Linked DNA regions of Homo sapiens: region 1 is linked to region 2. The links are contacts of gene promoters, found by promoter capture Hi-C in blood cells and fetal thymus (Javierre and others, 2016). All regions are on one chromosome and are shown on one strand. Each heading gives the region's core, a stretch centred on a gene start or on the middle of the fragment in contact. The rest is flanking DNA. Distances are from core to core; before and after follow the strand shown.

Region 1 (3,417 bases), core at 338-2,837, 1.7 Mb before region 2:
AAGTGACAAAAGGTAACTGTCATTCCTTCATGTTCATTCTTTTAAGGTAATAATATGTGATGGAAGTAAAAACAGCGAAAATACCCAAGAATTAGCCCAGGATATGCAAATTTAAATGTCTGCAGTGGACAGAAAGGAAACAAAGAAGTGAATCACACTGGGAATAAGAAAATGGAGACTATAGAGATGGTAGGGAGAATGAGCTTCCCTTTTTAAGGAGGCAGCAATCTTACAGAAATTGAGCCTAAAATTGTCAGTATTGCAAGAGAAGACAAAAATTCAGATTTTTATGTCAACACCACTGATTATAGAATGTTGGTAGCTAAATTGAAATAAAATTTAAATATTATATAAGTGCATGGTAAAGAATTTGGATGGCTTTTGTTCCTGAACCCTGGGAAGTAGCCTCTAAACCCTTGGAATTCACCAAGAATGGTGGGAGTGTCTTTTCTTGGTAGGCCTCTTGGACTAGACCCAATAGTTTACACTAACGAGATGACTCATGACTGGGGGTTGGTCAGCCATGTGATTAGAGTGTTGGGGCTTTGGGCCCCATGATACTAGCCCGACCTCTTGAGAGACTTGGAGCCACATGTCTGAGCCTTATGACTAGTGATTCATCCAATCATGCCTGTAATGAAGCCCCAATAAAAACTCTGGACACACTGAAGCTTGGATGAACGTCCGTGGTTGGCAGTACTCAGTGTGCTAGGAGGAAAATGTGTCCCTGAGGACATGAGGAGAGGGACAATGGAACCTTCTTTCTGGGACCCTCCCAGACCTCACTCTATGTGTCTCTCCCTTTGGCTGGTTTTGATTTGAATCCTTTTGCTATAATAAAACCATAATAATAACTATAATAAACATCCTTTTGCTATGATAAAACTGTAATAAAACCGAAATAACACTTTCCTGAGTTCTCTAAGTCATTCTACTGAATTATGAAACTTGAAGGGGTAGTGGGAACCCCTAAATTTGTAGGCAGCTTGTCAGATGTAAGGATGGCCTGGGGACCTCCTAGCTTAGGTTGTTGATAGCTGAAGTCATTGCAATGCACCAATAAAAAAACGTTTTGAGATAAAATCTGGTCTATTATAGGCTATTAATTTGCGACCTTTGGCCTAGGCAAATTTAAGCATTCCTGAGTGCTTTCTCTAGAAGGGTGAGGGTTTGGACCATCCTACCAGTTTGAGGCCTACCCAAAATAAATGTATTTGAGAGGAGTTTACACTGGTGGTATCTGTTATAGGTTTCTGGGAATATCACTAAAGAGAAGTTTCAAAATTAAATTTTAATAATATTCTGAAAATAGTAGTGCTAATCCTTCACGTATAGGGGTTAGGGTATTTCTTCCAGTGGTTCTGCCTGAGGGGTGGGCCTGTTTTTCAGTGTCCATTCTGTCAGTCGTTATGGGATGTGAAGAGGGTTCCAAGGGTTCCACCATCACTAGGTGGAAATGAGGCAACTTTTCCCATATTTTTCCTTTACTCTGGTTTGTATCTCCCCTCCTAGGTAGGTATCAAAGTATATATGGTCTTCATTTGTGTTGCCTCAAATTCTCATTTCTTCCTTGATATAAAAAGGAAACAGGAAGACATTGAAATAAGGATATTATTGTGGTCCTGTACTTTTACCCTGTTCTAACCTAGCTGAGGGAATCTAGCATAAGTCACCCAACTTTACATTCCACATGTGTCAACCGGATGTACTAAGACTTCCCTTGAAGGGTGGTTGTGGGGAGAATATATGAGTAATATATATGACAGCAACTGGTATTATTAATGAGAGGAGAAGTCTGTCTTACTCTTTACTTTGCAAGTAATGATTTTACAGCGCTCTGATGGGTATGTTGTAGTTACTCTGGCAGGAAGTGGTTTTGACTTGGGTATATAGTTAAGAGATATATGGAGAAGGGTGGAAGTGCTAATGGTTTGTGAATTTTTAAAATAACACCAATTATGAACTTGATGCACACCTGCAGCTAGAATCTTTCTCTAGATGATGTTTGACTATCATTTTTTTTTTTTTTTTTGTCTTGGGGCTCTAGGTTTTCACTTTGGTGATATTTATGTGTGTACTATGGCTGTCTATATAAGTGTTAAAAGGCATAATTATAGTTATTAAAAACAATTTAAGGAAAACAGAAAAATGCAATAATGAAGAAATACAAATACTGACTTTTTTGTATGATCAATGAGGATATTATAACTAAAATGAAAAACATTATACATATCAGTTGCAAAAACAGTTACATTCCCCACAATCTTTTTAAAAAATGCGAGTAGTTTGCTAAAGTGAACTGGGTGACTTATTTTCAACCTTGGAAGAAAAACTCAATTAAAGCTACATTTGAACTGTAATGGCACCAAGGAGTTCAACTTGACCTCATATGCCAGATTATAATCATCTTTCAAGTGTACAAACAAGGAAGCATAGTTATCAAAGAATGAGAAATACGTTTGTTCAAAGACCATTTACTGCTTTAACAAGAGGTGAAAGCTTGCCAGAAATATATAAACACCTACCCCAGTGCTATTCATAGGCTTAACATGTTCAAAGACTTGGGGGCGGAGGGGGGGCAATTTAAAAATATCTTTGAAGTTGTGGGTATTCATCATCATATCTAATAATGCTTACTTTCTAGAGCCCCTCTCCAAGGAGGGCAAAGCAATTTATCTGACTTATTTTCATGACATCCTTGTGAGATAAGGCAACCACCATTATCTCCCTTCTGCAAATGGAGAAACTGAAACGTTGGGAGGTAAAATCACTTGAAGAAGGTCAGTAGCAGGCCTAAGAATGTAAATACACGCATTTTAGCTTTTAACTGCTATTTTACTTTACAGAAAACTAAACAAACAAAAAATAATTTTAAAAAAATCACATACTTTTTCATTCTCTTTTTAAGTTAAAGAATAATTACTCATCTATCAACTTTTCCTTGGTAAGGAAAACAGTTTAAATGGCTTTTCACAATAACTGGAATCTTATTATACTGGAATGAATGAACCACTTGCAAAGTTGTGATGTTCATTTAACAAACACTAAATACCTAGTCTGCAACATGTTGTATTGTTCAGGGTGTTGAGACTTCAAAGGTGAAACATATATTCCTCATCTTTAAAGGTCTTCCTGGAGAGAGAGATTCTATAAGCAAATTATATGGTGCAGTCTCATGTTATTTAAATTTACTAAATTCATCATTTTATCCCCCAAATCTATTTTTTCTTCCCTTTCCCCTTCCCGTAAATGCTACTGCTACACCCAGGAGCTAAAACCAGTCTTCTGGGCACCACTGCTGATGTCTCATTTTCCCCGCACCCTGCCGTGTCCTCTGGTCTATTTTTTTTTTTTTTGAGATTGGGTCTTGCTCTGTTTCCCAGGCTGGAGTGCAGTGGTGTGACATAGCTCACTGCA
Region 2 (3,265 bases), core at 9-2,508:
GTAGCATCGTTATAAATTCAGTTTATTTTAGGGCTTTAGCAACCTATAATTTCAGAGTCCACCTAAAAAAACTTTTGCACCAGGAACTGTCTTTCTGTTGCATTTAGCTAAAGAGATTTACCCCCATTTTGAGCACTCAGGCCCATTAGCAATGGTAACGACTAAAGTCCAGTTAGAATATAAAAATTATGCAGTGTATCATAAATTACACCACACTATACAGACAGATAAAATTTACTTTTCTTAGAATTCAGGTCAACAGCAGAAACAAAAATTATCATTTGTGCATAACCTTAATTATTCCCCTCAAGTACACAGAAAAAATAAATGCAGTATACATTTCTTCGAAGAGGTTTGTGGTTACTACCTTTCCTGTGCTGTACTAGTTTTTACATAGGGAACCTTTGTTGCCCTTTAAAATGTAATTTAGAAATGTAACTGATGTGTTTTGCCACCAATAAAACAAATACATATGACAAAATGAATGGATACTCATTTCAGTCTGTACGATTTGTTTTTAAATTATTCTATTTGCAGCTAGAGGAGAAATGTGAGACCATTTCTTTCCTCTCTGCCAATGGCAAGCCGATTTCCCCAGCCCACGTGGACAATTGAACATTAAGTCTAGCGTGCTTCCAGTCTCCCGACTCCTGCCGGGCCATCTGTGGGCACACACACATCTAGGCTAGTACACTGGATGGGGTAAGGCAGTCGACATGGCATCTCTGGTTTGACTACCGGGATTGTGCTATGTAGCTATCCCATGTGTCTGCCGCATCAGTTTATTGGACAGGGAAAGAAAGTGTACTCAGCAGAGTGCACACAGTTACTGCCATCCATTCTTTCGTTCATACACACATTTTACTCCGCTCTCCACGTGCGTTCCGAACGAGAACTGGAACACACACACACACACACACACACACACACACGTGTTCACCGAACCTCACCCAGACTCAGGCCCGGACAAGTCCCCCGCCCACCCAAAGCTCCCCGCCCTTCGCCCTTCCGCCTGCCTCTTCCCACCCTCTCCGACTCCACGTGGGCGCACCCCGGCGCCAGGCGGCCGCGCTGCCCACAGAGCCCCTAGCCGGCCCCGGCACTGGGAGGGAAGGTGCGGCCCTGGGGTCGGACGGACAAAGCCGGCATCCAATCGAGCCCGGCACTGCCTCCCCGAAGGGAGGGAGCGTCTGCTCGGACGGGCCCAATGAGCAAGGAGGCCGAGTGGGACTTCCTCCCGGAATCCCGTTGGCCAGAATAGCCGGGCCGTGGGTGACACGTAAGTTGGGCAGGAGGTGGCGGGGCGGCAGAGGCACCAGCCGACCCGTCAGTGACACCGCTGTGCCGTCCCCAAAACCAGCCGAGACAGCTGGCCCCCACCCTTCCACCCATTGGGCAGGCCGCACGGGGGCGCGGCCCGGAGTCCTGGTCCCTTTGTTGGGCGCGCACCCCCTCCCTTAGGTGGCAACAAAGTCGTGCAGTGGGAGCCGCCGCGATAGGGCGGGGAGTGGCCAGGGCGGGACTCCAAGAACTGCCCGGGGGCAGCGGGGCCAAAAAGTGGGAAGAAGGAAAAAAGGCAGGAGGCATCTGGGGACAGGCGCGAGGGCAGCCGGCTCTGAAGTATGCGGAGGGCCTCCTCCCGGCCCCGGGCATTCGCGGAGAACGAGCCTCGCAGAAGTTTGGCTGCAGCTGCCCGGGCGGCGTCGATGGCTGCGCGCCCCGCGCCGCGCGGGGGCTGAGCGGGCGCCACTTCCCCTCCGGGCCGGCTTTTGTGTCTGGCATCTCCTCCTCATGCTGCGTCTGGCCACCTACTGCGGCGGCCGCTGCTGAGACGCTCGCTCGGACCAAGGGGAGGAGACGGCGGGGGCGGCCGCGGCTTTGGGTCCAGGCGGGACTATGGGAAACGGGATGTGCTCCCGAAAGCAGAAGCGGATTTTCCAGACGCTGCTGCTGCTGACCGTCGTGTTCGGCTTTCTCTACGGCGCGATGCTCTACTACGAGCTGCAGACGCAGCTGCGGAAAGCCGAGGCGGTGGCGCTCAAGTACCAGCAGCACCAGGAGTCCCTCTCCGCCCAGTTACAAGGTACGGCTAACGGGACGCGCGCAGCCGGTGGCCAACTTTGCCCCGCGCCTCCACCCGGGCAGGAAAAGTGGCTTTGGTGAGCTATTGGCACTGTGGTTGCCACCTCTGACCTTCAGGGACGTCAGAGGTGAGCGTTTCAGGACTGCCGGCACCAGAGTGTCAGGGGAGATGACATTCTCATCCTCCCGCTTCTTCCTCCCAGCGGTTAGGTTTAGAACTTCGTAGCACCAGCCCATCGTCCCGCTGGGCGTTTGGTGGGCGGGTGCACAGATAGTCCTTTACCCGAGCTCTTGTCAAAGGCCCAGCTGCAATCGGGGCAGGGAAACTGGTAGCCCTCCGCCGCTTCTGCCAGCCCTGCTCTGAGGAGCATTGTTCCGTGGATTCTAGGTATTTGCTTTCTTGTTGACTTTGTCAGTTGCTTAAAAAATGAAGAGTTTGGCAGAGATTTCTCAAACTGTGCTGTTTTTCAAGGGAAAATTAAGCCATGACCCAGCAGCTTAATTAAAGTCATGGCCCAGTCGAATGGAAGGAACCTAGATCTGGACCTGCTAGTTTCTTATTTCTTATTCTTTTAATTTAATAGGATGTCTTTAGAGATGCTGGATGTGTGGGAAAAGTCCACACTACATACCATTCACCATCCTGCAGTAGTTTATTTCTTTAAAAACAGGTTTACTTGTCTTCCTAAGTAGCTTTTACTTCATCACAGAGATGCATGTATGTTACAGTTAGCTTCGGGAAGCCAAAGAGGAGAAACACAGGTTTTCACTTTGCCATGCACAGCAAACCCAACTTGAGCAAGACCTGTAGAAGAACTTAAAGTTTCTATCCTATTTTAGAATCTAATTTAATGTAATTTTCACAAACATAATTTACTTTAAATGTAAATTCAGAATTTGAATTTGAATTTACTTTTAACGTAAATTCAAAGTCAGCACCATGTCCTCTTGTTAAGGACGTATCCTATACATATTTTTTTTGCAAGCTTTTACTTGTGGTTAGTTTTCAATACTTATGCAGCTTTCTCCCCAACCAAAAAATAATAATAAATAGCTGTAAGTGGTGAAATGTTGGCAGACTTTGCTGATGATGCAAATATAGCTTGTTTAATATTGCTAGGTAGATAGATGCAAGCTAGAGGGATGTTTCTGTGTATGTGTGTGCAGATATGAAACAGATGCC

What was found. Contacts are between HindIII fragments. The CHiCAGO score rates a contact against its expected background, and 5 or more counts as called.
Region 1: a fragment that was not itself captured here is called in contact with the fragment with the promoter of GOLIM4 in region 2 in 1 of 17 cell types (erythroblasts); the score reaches 5.1 in erythroblasts.

What each region holds. Positions count from the first base shown.
Region 1 is chr3:169,757,819-169,761,235 of GRCh38, reverse strand. No RefSeq gene overlaps it. Among named protein-coding and RNA genes, the nearest start is that of ACTRT3, 10 kb to the left of the region's middle. The HindIII fragment of the contact is 1,828 bases long and covers 674-2,501 here.
Region 2 is chr3:168,093,917-168,097,181 of GRCh38, reverse strand. GOLIM4 (golgi integral membrane protein 4) reads left to right here and starts at 1,258. Exons shown (of 16, transcript NM_014498.5): 1 at 1,258-2,083. The coding sequence starts at 1,897. RefSeq lists enhancers at 483-532, 730-1,231 and silencers at 903-1,142, 1,433-1,482. The HindIII fragment of the contact is 7,495 bases long and covers 1-3,070 here.